2 separate regions of the Homo sapiens genome follow, and region 2 is linked to region 1. Evidence: promoter capture Hi-C in human tissues and cell types (Jung and others, 2019). All regions are on one chromosome and are shown on one strand. The core of a region is centred on a gene start or on the middle of the fragment in contact, and the rest is flanking DNA. Distances in the headings are between cores, read along the strand shown.

Region 1 (6,277 bases), core at 1,549-4,048:
AGGTGAAGGGTATGTAGGTGGGTGTTCACTATACTATCAGCTTTGACAAGATAAAAAGTAAGGTGGGAGAAGGAAGGGAGTGGAGGGAGACGTTCCAAAGAGGGGAGCTCAGGGGTTGGAATTTTGGGGCAGGAGTCAGAGGAGAGGACATTCCTTCCCCAGGGCAGTCCACAAACCTGAGCATGCAGAGCTGTGGGCCAGCCCACAGGCCAGCCCAGGCCAGGCAGGCACAGCGCTGGAGTGGCTTACCACCTGAAAAGGGGGCCAGACCCTGAGGAAACGGACTCACCTGTGGGCAAGCCGGCTTAGAGGGACAAGGAAAACAAGCTGGTCCCAGGGAGACCAGGGCAGGAACATGGGCCCCTCCCCCTCCATTGAGCTGTGGCAAGGAGCCAGGTCTGGCCCCAAGCCCACCCAACTCCCCCAAACACCCCTCAAGGGGCGACAGCCTAAGTGTATCCTCCTGTTTGGAGAGCCAGTCTAAATACGGAGCCTCAGACATAAGATGCCGCTCAAAACAGATTTTCCTGGAAAAGACCATCTGGCAAAGGAGGTCTAGAGCATCGTCTGTTGTGAGAGGCAGTGTTGATCTCCTGCAAGCCAACGTCCGGAATGGGAATGCCTTGATCCCACCTCCCTAGGAAACTACAGCTTAGTGCTTGTTTTTCCCAAGGTCACCCTCTTGCCCAGATGGAGAGACACTCTATCCCACCTCCCACCTCTCTCCTAAATTGTGTCTCCAGGGAAGAAGAGGAGAGGATGGGGACACAGGTCTGAGTATCAGACAGTTCTGGCCAAGTGCAAATCCTCACTCTGCCACTTACTAACCAGGAGACTTTGAACAAACAGCTCTACCACAAAATGGGAATAAGGGTAGTGCCTCCCTCTAAAGACTGTTATGAGGGTACTTAGCACATATGCTCCATATGTGGAAGCTAGGTGAGGTAATACCCCCCAGCCACACTCTCTCTCTCAGTCCTGTCTAGAGCAGGAAGTCATTCCTTCCAGCTATCTTTGCTCTCTCCCTTCAGGGAAGACCCTGGGAGGCACTATTTGTCAGGTCTGCTTGTGGAGCGTGCACCCCATAGTTGTCAGACCAGGACAAGCTGCAGCGGGGAGGCCTCTGGGGGCATCCCTGGGCTGCAGGGTGCAATTCACCCAAGCATTGAGACTTCAACCTTGCAAGAGGCACCAGTGAGGGAGGCCTTCCAAGGACAACCCAGTCATCCTCCTTTAGCTGGGCCACACCCACCTACTCACCCCACTGCGTGGGAATCTTTTGGGGGCTCTGGCCAAACCCTAGGGACCTGCTATGTTTCCACCAGGACCAAACTTTGCAGTAGCCCCACTCAAAAGCCCCTGTTCCCTGCTTCCCGCATATATTGGGGAAAGGGGCTGCTGGGAGGACAGCAGGCACATTTTACTGATTCGGAGATCCCAGGCCCCAGAACTTGTAGCTTCCCTGGGAGACAGGTTCCTAAAGTCCTGGGGAGAGGGTGGAAGAATGAAAGAACGACTGCAACTGCCCTGGGCCACGGGTTGGGTTTGGAGGCAGTCCCAGCCCAGTGAACCCCCCCACCCCCAACCACTATTAAGCAGCTCTTGTTTGTAGGATCTAGAAAAAGGAACTGGGGAACCCAGGAAAGTCCAAACCCAGGCTGCCCACCTGCCCTGGCCAAATCCTGAGCCCTCTCGCTGATCCCCATCAAATTCAGCCTGGCTTATCCCCAGGCTGCCAGGAGTCTTAGGCCCTCTTCCATTGTGACTGCTGCTTCTGCTCCCTGTTCTCTTCCTGGCCCCCCCAAGATGGCCCCAAGACAAAGGGGTGGGCTTGAGACAGTGGCCCCCTGGGCCTATGCAAAAACAATGCCCCCAGTGATCATTCCGGGGAGTCCCTGCATCCTCTAGGAACAGCTGAATACCTCCTCCTCCGAGGGGGCCCGCTGGGCAGGGTTGTCCCCAGTCTGGACTCCCTCTGCACCCAGCCCCAGCAGCCCGCTCCTGGGACCCCTCCCTCCCGCTGCCGCCTCGGCCATTATGTGCCTCCTCAGCCCTGACTGCCACGCCCCCGTGCGAGCCCCCGCTCTAGCTGCAGAGCCGGGGAGGCCTGGCCGCCAAGCAGGGCTGTCAAAGTTGGGAAACTGGAAACAGAAATAAATCCTCAAAGCTGCAGCCTCGTGAAGGTGGCTGCCGGCAGGCCCCGGTACCCAATGCCCCGATCCCCGACCACCAGGCTGCCACTGGCACCCCCCACGCACACGCGTACCCCCAGATTATACAAAAGCGGGGAGAGGGTAGTGGGTGGCGGAGCCGGGAGACAATCGGCCCGGCAGCCCCCACCGTCCCTCAGGCTGGGCTCGGGCTTTCCCGCGGCGCCCCCTCTCCCCGGCCCAGACCCGGCCAGCCCGGGCTTCCTCTCTCGGCCCCATCTCCATGACAACCGTATCCTTCGGATGCTCCAGACGCCGCGGAATTGATCTGGAAATGTAGCTTTGTTAGCGGACCCGGGTGGGCACCGAGGGCGAGGGCGACGCCCCCCACCCGCACGCGGCCCTCTCCCCGGCCCGTCCCGCCCCGGCCTGGCCGCCAGCGGGGAGGGGCGGGTCCCGGAGCCCCGCGGCCCCACTCACCGCTGCTGGTCCCCGCCGCGGGTCCGGCCTCTCACGGCGGGGCCATCGGAGGCCGCCGGGCTGCCTGTCCCGCCCCGCCGCCGCCGGTCGGAGCTGCCCGCGCCCGCCCGCGTCCCTTCAGGTGCCGGAGCCGCGATGTGGAGAGGCTGAGCGAGGGGGACGGACGGCAGGAGGGAGGGAGCGGAGCCGTGAGCTGGAGGAGGAGGAGGAGGGAGGAGCGGGAAGGGCGGGGAAGGGCGGGGGCACTGCGGGCGCGCGAGCGGCGGGCGCGGAGCCCGGAGGGAAGCGCGGCCCCCAGCCCTGTCCGCTTGCAGCGCAGCGCTCGCCCCGGGACCCCGAGCGTGCCGGGGAGAGCGCGGCCCACCTTGTCCCCCTCTGCCCCGCGCGGGCCCTTTAAGAAAGGGGGGGAGGGGAGCGCCCGGGGTTCTGCCCCCTCCTAGCCACGCTGGGCCCCTGCCGTCCTCGAACCCTCGGGCAGACCCAACCACCTCCGCCCTCCAGGCAGGACCCACCGGTCTAGAACCTGAGCTCTCGGGACCCGCCAGGCCCTGGAGGTGAAGGAGGGGGCGGGTCCTGGCCCTCCTCCCGCGGTCTGTTCAGGGAGTGACCCCTGCCCCCAGCCCCCCGACACACACGCCAGCCCCCGGGAGACGCCGCCAAGGGAGGAGCAGGGAGTGCGGGGGGCCAAGGTGAAGAATCTCAGAGAGGGAGACTGAGCCCCTGAGACCTAGAGTCACACGGGACGGGACGGAGACCTGGGCTGTGGGGTGAGAAGGAGCCTCGGGACAGAGTGGGATGGGAGGAGGCAGGAGAGAGGAGAAAGAGACAAAGGAGAAAGAACCTGAGGGAGGCGGGAGGTGAGGGGTGGGTCCAACCAAGAATCCACATCCCTGTGCCAGGTCAAGGGGAAGCCTCCCTGGGCAGATATAAGGAGACAGAGAGAGACAGAGGGTGCCCTGGGCAGAGGAAACCATCTCCCAAGGCACCTGTCCCACGGTGTCTCCCCAAGGGCAAGTCAAGGCCCTGAAGCCGCCCCCCTCAGCCCAGGACTCTAACTGAAGAAGAGGGTTGACTGGCTGTACCTGGGCTAGACATTAAGAACTTCCTGGCTGTGAGGCACCTGCAGAGTAAGAGTCCGCCTCTCAGAGAGGCATTAAAGGGCCCCCACCCACAGGGATCTAAGGAGGGCGTGGGGAGCAGGCCCAGTGCCTGGGAGAAGGGAAATCAGGATAGAGTCAGGCCCTGCCACTGGAGGCCACTTTCTACCCCTCTCCCCTACTCCAGCCCCTGGGGGGTTCACCACACCCAGTTGCTTCCATCTCCAGACCTCAGCAGATGATCCACACTCTGCCCGGTGGGGCCTTGATCCTGCTGTGCTCAGTGAACTCCTACTGAACCCTCAAATTCCTCCTTAAATGCCCCTTCCTTCATGAAGTCTTCTCTGACCTTCTTTCCACCCATGAACACACAAACATGGACTCTTCTTAGGGAGCAGGAAGAGGATTTGCTGACCTCTTAGGGTGGCAGTAATTGGAGGTGTGGAATCTGAGCTGTGCGTAGTCTCCCTCCCTTCAAGCTGGGCAACAGCAGGAGCTGGGACTTCATCAACCATGGTGACACCTCTGACAACCAAGCATCTACCAAGTGCTCTTCATGTGTCATATTTAATTCTCAAAACAATCCTACAACCCGTTTTACAGATGAGAAAACTGAGACTTGGAGAGCATAAGTCACTTGCTCATGATCCCAGGAGATCTGAATCTGTGAGCACAGCTGGTCAATTAAGAGGGCACTCAGACCACATCCTTCACTGCCCATCAAACCCTAGGACATTACCGCAGAGCCCAGAAACAAGGGAGCCACTCTCTGTGCAGGTGCCCAGGATCTTAAAGGGCACAGAGGGAGCTTGGCTTCCCTGCTGTCCTGCATTCTACCCCCCTGCCCTCTGCTACCTGTAGGCAGAGAAGGGTGGCGACCAGCAGGGGCTGTGGAGGGAAGTGCTCATGGCAGGGCTTAGATACCACATTCCCCACCCTTGGCACCCATGCCCTCAAGTCACAGCTGGACCACCTTTCTGGGCTCCTACTTCCTCATCTGCCCAATGAGGATGGTAGCAGTCCCCCTCTTTGTGAGGCTAGGATGGGGACCGAAAGAGCTGATGTGCTCAAGACCTGGCACACAGATGCACTCAATGGGCCATGGCTGTTCCAGCTGTAATGATTACTTACTCATGGAATGCACTATTTAATTGTTGTCCACTGGATGGACTCTGAGCCCCTTGAAAGGGTTCACAGTGTATCCTCAGCACCTAACACTCAGCATGGCTTAATAAATTATGTGGAAGGAAAGAACAGGGAAAGGGGAAAGGTAGACATAGCTGTCTCTCCAGCTAACTTGCGCTGGGCTGGCACACAGAACCTAGTCTCTGCCCCCTGGATCTGCCCCCTGTCCTTTGTAGCTCTGGGAGCCTGTGGCAGGGGCAAGGAGACCCGGGTTCTAGTCCAGTCCCCCCAACCCACACTTCCTAGCTGTGTGGCTATGGGCAGCTGTACCCTTTCCTGAACCTTCCTTTCCCCTCCGTCAAGTGGAACTAGCTCCCTAGGGCTCAGAGGGCTGCCTGGAGGCCACAGGTGAGCTCTGTGTGAGTGTTCTGGGTGCCATGGACACTGGAGAGGGGAGTATTGTTACTGTTCCTTGTGGCTACCTTCGCCTCCTGAAAGACAGCAGGGTCAGGCTGGGAATGGTGGCTCACGCCTGTAATCCCAACACTTTGGGAGGCCAAAGTGGGTTGGATCACTTGAGGTCAAGAGCTCGAGACCAGCCTGGCCAACACAGTGAAACCCCCCTCTCTACTAAAAATACAAAAATTAGCCGGGTGTGGTGATGCACACCTGTAATCCCAGCTACTCCGGAGGCAAGAGAATCACTGGAACCCAGGATGCAGAGGTTGCAGTGAGCCAAGATCGTGCCACTACATTCCAGCCTGGGCAACAGAGCAAGACTCAGTCAAAAGAAGAAGGAAAGAAGAAAGAAAGACAGAAAGAAAGAAAGAAAAAAGAAAGAAAGAAGGAAGGAAGGAAGGAAGGAAGGAAGGAAGGAAGGAAGGAAGGAAGGAAAGACAGAAAGAAAAAAAGAAAGAAAGGAAGGAAGGAAGGGAAGGAAGGAAAAGAGAGAGAGAAAGAGAGGGAGGGAGGGAGGAAGGAAGGAAGGGAGAAAGAGAAAGAAAGAAAGAAAAAAGAAAGAGAGAAAGAAAAGAAAAGAAAGAAAGAGAAAGAAAGACAGCAGGGTCAACATCCCCCTACCCAGGAGCCAGAATAGACGATATTTCCCCCATTCCTCAAGGGAAAGAAGAATGCGCAGCTTCTCCCTGTTCCTCCAAGTGACCTCCCTTTCCTCCCCCACCCCGCCTCCTCACCTGAGGGGGTCTCATAAGAAGCAGGTGCCAAGGCTGAACCAAAGACCCTTGCACATGGAGGGGCCTTTTCCCATGGTTTACCGCCTGGCCCTTGACTGGTCCCCAGGAGAGCATGAAAGTTATGGGGGGAGGGGGGGCCAGCTGCATTGGGCATGGTCAGCACCTTGGGCAGGGACAGAGGGACCCACCAATTGGGAGGACTCATTTGGGTCCAACCCAGAAGAGGCTTGAC
Region 2 (6,644 bases), core at 3,038-5,537, 91 kb before region 1:
GAGCAGTCTCTATGCAACACATCCCCCTAGCCCATCACCATCACCACTAAGCAGTGGCCACAGGCTCAGTGCATAATACAGCACTGGAACTCATGTCAGGAACCAAGGTGGTAGAGTAACCCCTGCTTCCTCCCACCAGCGGCCACCGCCATCCCCCACCATCTTGTTGGGAGGGAAGTGGCTCATGATGGTGGAGACAGGCAGTTCCCTTGTCTCTGAGTTGCAAGAAAAGTCAACACACTCCAAGTGAGGTAAGGGGAAACTTTAGCACCTGATAAGAGCTCTCTGTGTTGTGTCCCCAGTTCATAAGAAAGGAGAAGGGACTAGTTGGAGGTCATCACTTGACCAAGAGGTTAGATCATCACCAGGTGTCAACCCAATCTTAGCACAAAGCCACCTGTGCATATGTGTTCAGTTTGTAACCAGTCATTGAGCTATATACACTTATAATATGTGCACTTTCCTGAATGTATGTTACATTTCCAAAAATAAAGGAACACACCTGAAGAGCCCTTTAGAACCCACAACCCGAACCCACACTCACAGCTTCTGCTTCAGAATGCCTAGGATATGTCCCAGGTACCTGACTTGTAAAGCTTCCCATGTGATTCCGATTAGCATCCAGGGTTAAGACCTAACATAAGCAATGACTGGGGACTCCAGAGCAGATGCAGGAGGGAGGGAGGTGGGTAAGGGAAGGAAGATAAAGCAGGATTTCAGTCACACTTAGAATAATGAAGTTCCAAAAAGTCCAACAGATTGTTAGATTGATGCACATAGAATCTCTGGGTGCCAAAAAAAAAAAAAAAAAGAAAGAAAGAAAGAAAGAAAAGAAAAGAAAAAGACGAAGAAGAAGAACCAGCAATATAAAAAAAGCAGGTAACTGAGGGGAAAAAACTTTGTAGCAAAAGGTTAATAGCCTTAATATTTATAAAAAGTTCTTACAAATCACTAGGATGAGCACTCGATAGGAAAACAGACTGCATGCATGAACAGGCAATTCAAAAAGAAGAAATACAATGGGCCAATACACTCATGAAAAATGTTCAGCCTCATCAGTAATCAAATAAATGCAAATTAAAATGACAAAGAGACGTTATCTTTTGCCTAGCTAATTGGCAAAGATTAAAGACATGATAATACCTCGTGTTGGTGAGTGTGTGGAAAAAACAGGCACTGTCATTCACTGGGGGGAGCGCAAATTGGTGCAACCTTTCCAAAGGGCAATTTGGCAATGTACAAAGCTGAGAAAGATTGCATACCTTCTGACGCAGCAATTCCACTTTTAGGAAGATCGCCTTAGGAAATAATTGTGAATAATAATAATAATAGCTAACCTTTGTTAAATGCTCTCTATGTGCCAGGCTCTACATGCATTGTCTCATATAATCCTCACAGCCATCATCCCAAGAGGTAAGAGCTATTATTTATCTCCTGTATTTTACAGCTGTGGAAGTTGAGGCGCAAACGAATGAAGTTAATTCTTGGACACAAATCTAACAAGTAGCAAAGTCTGGATTGAAAGCCAGACAGCCTGAGTCTAGAGCCATCCTCCCCCATACAGCAGTATACATGGGGTGTGTGCAAAGATAAAGCTGCAAGGATGTTCTTTTGGGGTTGTTTGTAATGGGAAGGGGGAGGGGGCATGCTAAATGTTCCACACAGGAATCAGTTACATAAGTTATGATACACCCATACAGGAACATTATGCAACCATGAAAAATGATGCTGTAAGAAAAACTGAGTGTGTGAATACTCGGGGGTGCGGGATTTGTATATGCATAAAATATTTCTGAAAGGAGGTCAAAGGAACCCATAAGATTGATTATCTCCTAGAAAGACAACTGTGTGGTTGTGGCCAGAAGTTAGAGAGAGACTTGTTTTTTAATCCATATACCTCTTTTCACTTCTTGAATTTTGAATCATGTTAATATCTGTCAAAATATATGTTTATATATATATATTCAATGGAATCATTGTTGAAATATATATATACACAAACAAATACACATATAAGTCATAGAATTTGTTCCACATAACTTTCATTTCCTTGAAATGCTACCAAGAGTTCCAAGAAAAAAGGTTTCAAGGCCCCCACTTAGAGAACGATACTGAAGTTGATAGATACTTCTTTAACTATGCTTAACCCACATGCTCTCCAAACCCATTTTCCCATGGAACCCTCTTGTCAAGTAATATCTGTTTTCATCTCTCCAGATACTCCTGCTTATAGAATACACTTTGGGAAATGCTATTATTAATATTTAACACCCAGGCGAAAGGGTTACACTGTTTCATTAAATGAAAGAATACATAGAGCCTGGCACATAGAGAGCATTTAACAAAGGTTAGCTATTATTGTTATTATTATCCACAAATGGCATTGATTCCATTTTGTTTAAAAATGGGGGGAGGTGTTATTTATGAGTATGGAGACAAAGGAAGGTTTTGTTTTCTTCTTTTTTCACTCCTCTGTATTTTTTCATTTTCTAAAATGAACAAAATTATTTTACGAGAATCATTGTGTAAGCCTACGTCATACATTTTTAAAGTCTTCCTTTCTGTGCTTCCTCTGTGCCCTGTGCCCCTCTCATCTACTCCCTGCGTATATGCAGCAGCTCAGGGTGAAGTTCAATGAGGGGACCCCTGTTCTAGCCAGGCCCTCTTGCCTGCCTTTCTCCAGAGCCAGCTCTGGCCCATTGTCAGCACTCTGAGTTGCTAGGGAAAGGACCAATGGCCGAGACAGGGCCAATCAGTTCCCAGACAACTCCCTGGCTCCAACAGACCCTCCCTTCTGCTACTGGAAGGCTTTTAACCATCTCACAGAGAGAAATAAGACCACAAAATCAGACACCATCCTGCTACCAGCCTAACACGTGGCAAATCTTGATACCTGAGCTTTGGTCCCAGCTCTGTGGCTGCCTGGCTATGTGGCTTCAGGCAAGTTTCTTCACCTCTCTGAGTCTCATCTGCACCATCAGTGTCAGTATGACACTGCCTCACAGAGGTCAGGGACCAAACGAGAGCCTGCATGAAGGCTTTGTGTATCCTGTAAGGGACTATCCCACTGGAAATTGTTATACACCTCAGCACGAGCACTGGCTTAGCCTCATCTTCCTGAGAAGAGAGTACTTTCTCTTTCAGGGTGTGTGTGTGTGTGTGTGTGTGTTGTTTTGTTTTGTATTTTGGTGGTGGGGAGAGGAGCAAGGAAGTGAAGCATGGGAGACTGGGGCATGCGGAAATAGAATGGCGTTTAAGAAAAATGGGGACAGCCTCTCAGCTTGGCATTTGCAGCTTTGCATCCGTGATTGGGCCTGAGCCCACCAGTACAGCCCCATGGCTTGTTACCCATGATTTTAGATCCTGAGCACTGATGTCAAGGAGATCTGTGTTTGAATCCCAGTTCCATCATCTGCCCTTAGGGAAGTGACTTCACCATTCCGAGCCTCTGTTTCCCCATCTGTAAGTGGGTTTAACCATTGCTGTGAGCTCATGGGGTTACTGTGAAGGTTTCATAAGCTAATGTAAAGCTTCATACCATTCAAGGCATGAAGGAAACTCTCCATAAGTTATAACTACATTGATGTCATCACAGACTCATTATAAATGCTTATTGAATTGAACTAGGAAATGACACTAGGAGGGGTGGCTCTCAGGATCACCCTTCCCTTCCCCAGTTCCAGCCCAAAGACAGTGGCCCTTACTCTCCACTACTCATGCTTGGCACTGCCCCTACCACCACCGTGCTCACCTACCTGCCTTGTAACCCACAGCCACCCGGCCCAAGTTGAAGAAGATGAAGAGCCAGACGGGACAGGTGGGTGAGAAGCAATCGCTGAAGTGTGAGGCAGCAGCCGGTAATCCCCAGCCTTCCTACCGTTGGTTCAAGGATGGCAAGGAGCTCAACCGCAGCCGAGACATTCGCATCAAATATGGCAACGGCAGGTAAGCAATATCCAGCCTGTCCTCCATCCAAGCAGCTGCCCTCCCTCCTCTCGAGAAGGAGTGGCCTGAACTGGGCAGAGGCCAGGGCTGTGCCCCCAGACTCACCCATGGAACCAGTCCCAGCCCCTCTCCATACTCCCCTTCCTTGCCACTCCCAGCCTTCTTCCTGCAGCTCGGGGACCCTCTGGTCATGGTGGCCCAGGGTCTTGCAGACCACAGACAAGAATTAAGCCTTTAACTTCTCTGGATAGTTGAAGGCAATTTGACTGTCACAGTCAGCTTGATCAGTGGAAGACCCTGCTCATCTCTAAAACTTCTTGAAAAACCTGCTGTAGCGTCTGAAAGCCCCAACATTTGGCAATCTTTGGTGAAAGACCCTGACTCCAGAATGCCTCTGGGAGGTCACACATGATGGGCTGGTTTCTCAGCTTAGCAAGCTGTCAGTTGTCAGAGAGCTAGGTAAGGGAAAAGGGAGCAACACTTTGATTGGTGTTGGAGAACTCTGTTCCTCAGACGGTTTCCCCCTAAAAGTTGAGAATTGTCTTTAATCCTGAATCAGTGCTCCAGGGAAGTGAATCAGAGAAGTTCCCTGAGTCTCTAGGCTATGGGAGATGGCCTGTCTTCCATCTTGGCTGGGTCAGGCAGGGGGCTTCTGGCACCAGAGAAGCCGCTAGTCCAAGGCAGCCCACCACCTCTCTGCTGCCTCTCAAGGAGAAGCAAGGGGGAAAACCCCTGCCTGCCAGCTAAACAGGCATTCTACCTGATGTCTGCTCTGTTGGCTCCGGGGACCTAGTGGCCTTCCCTCTCTGACTGAGGAGCTCCCAAACCTTTTCTACCCTCCCTCCCAGAGTAGCTTACAACCACTCCTTTCCTGGCTGTCATTTTCCTCCTCACCGCCCCACCACACACACAAAATGCAAATTAGGATGGTTTTAGAGCACACCAGCCTGCCCACAACAAAAAGTGGTAGAAGGCCAGGGCTGGGCAGGCTGCTTGGGTTTGCCATGTGGGGCTGGATGTCCATGCCCTGCCTCTGGCCCTCAGACTCTGGAACCTGTAAAAGAGGTTAAAGGAGTCAGGGGACTGGGAGTTACTTCCAGTTCTCTGATTCTCCTTCCAAGAATGGGGAGCAGAAGTAAAACTGATCACTCAAGAAAATGATCCTGGCAGAAAACAGAATGTAATTAAGGAAGAGTTTGGCTTAGATCAAAGGTTTGTGGCTGAAAGAATGCCGCTTCCTAAGGAACTTGCCATGGCCAGTGGCGAGTGGGGGGTTCTATATGTCCCTTGTCTACAGCATTGGCAAGAAGCTCTGGCTGCCCACCCAGCCCACCTTCCGAGACCACCCCACCCCTTCTCACTGCCCTACCAAGGCTGCTTCCAAGCTGGAGAGAATGGGCAGGCTTCTTGGAGCTGGGGCAGTTGGGTCCCGTCTCCCTCCTATCCTTTCTTTCTAGAAGATGGTTTCTCCCCTACTTCACTGCAGTGACGAAAGTCAGGAGAGCCCCCCTTTCCCTCCTCATGGCTCCCAAACATGTCTACAACCTGCCTATCATCATCCCACCCTACCTGGTGCCACACACTCATACTCACCCTCCCTCCCGCACATTCCCCCCCACCACACACACACACCCACAGAGCCCTGGTACCACCAACTCACTCCTTTCTCTGGTAACTTCAGCTTTCTCTCCCTACCAACAAACCCACGCCCGTGACTTTTTTTCTCAAATGCTGTCCCTCCACGCTGCTGCTCCCCTGGCCCTCCAGCGGTTGCCCCATCTCACTTCCGCCCTCCACCACCATATGAAGTCACTGAGGGAGCTAGCCTCATGCCCACTGACTGCGCACTCTCGTCCTCCACTCACTCTTTGACCTGCTGGAATCTGCCCTTCAGTTACATCCCAACCTCTCGATGGCTGTGGTCCTGGAGAAACCGCAGTTATCTTTGCACTTCCTGGCTCAGGCCTCCAGGCCTCTCAGCGGCCTCGGCCTGGGAATACCTGCTCCCCGGGCCCTGTGGTGCTCCTCCTAGTCTTGCTGTGAGTCTGGACACTGTCTCTTAGTTGCCATCAATGCTGGAACTTTCCTGAGCTTTGGGCCTCACTATTTTCTTTCCTCCCTTTCCGCCTGTGGGTGATTTCACCTTCTCCTGTTGCTTTAAGAATCTGAGACCCCAAGTCTCCATATCCAGACACAATGGCTTTTTTACCTGAGCTCCAGACCCATGCTGCCAGAGAGACACTAGATACCACACCTGAGATGCCTCACAGACATTTCTGATTCTGAAGGCCCAATCTGGCCTCTCCCCTGCCTGCTGTAGTCCTTTCTCTCCCTCATGTGTTCCCCTCTCAACTGTGGCTCAACCAGACTCTCTGCTGCTCAACCCCTGACCCTTTGTCGTCTGCCCAGGGGGTCGTGCCTCTTTCCCTCCTCCTGCACATTTCTTATCTGGCCTCCCTGCCTCGAGCCTTCCTCCTCTGTCCCACTCTTGGCCACTCCCCACCTTTTCTGGACCACAGGCCCCTCTGAGAATTCATTTCTGAATCTAAAATATCTGTATTGAGTATCAACTATGTGCCAGGCACTCTGCTAGAGGCTCAAGATATGTCAGTGAACAAAACAAAACTTACCTTCATGAGTCTCTAGTCTAGCTTCTACTATAGAATCTGGTAGACACCTTGTCCTTTTCTTCAGGAAAA

The links. The method cuts DNA at HindIII sites, captures the fragments that hold promoters and counts their contacts. A contact is called where the count stands out against the background at its distance.
Region 2: a contact is called between a fragment that was not itself captured here and the fragment with the promoter of PSD2 in region 1, in 3 of the 25 tissues and cell types used here (adrenal gland, bladder and heart left ventricle).

What each region holds. Positions count from the first base shown.
Region 1 is chr5:139,792,329-139,798,605 of GRCh38, reverse strand. PSD2 (pleckstrin and Sec7 domain containing 2) reads right to left here and starts at 2,798. Exons shown (of 15, transcript NM_032289.4): 1 at 2,631-2,798. RefSeq lists a silencer at 3,080-3,279. The HindIII fragment of the contact is 20,038 bases long and covers 1-6,277 here.
Region 2 is chr5:139,884,641-139,891,284 of GRCh38, reverse strand. NRG2 (neuregulin 2) reads left to right here. Exons shown (of 10, transcript NM_004883.3): 2 at 3,774-3,945. Among named protein-coding and RNA genes, the nearest start is that of PSD2, 92 kb to the right of the region's middle. The HindIII fragment of the contact is 4,447 bases long and covers 2,064-6,510 here.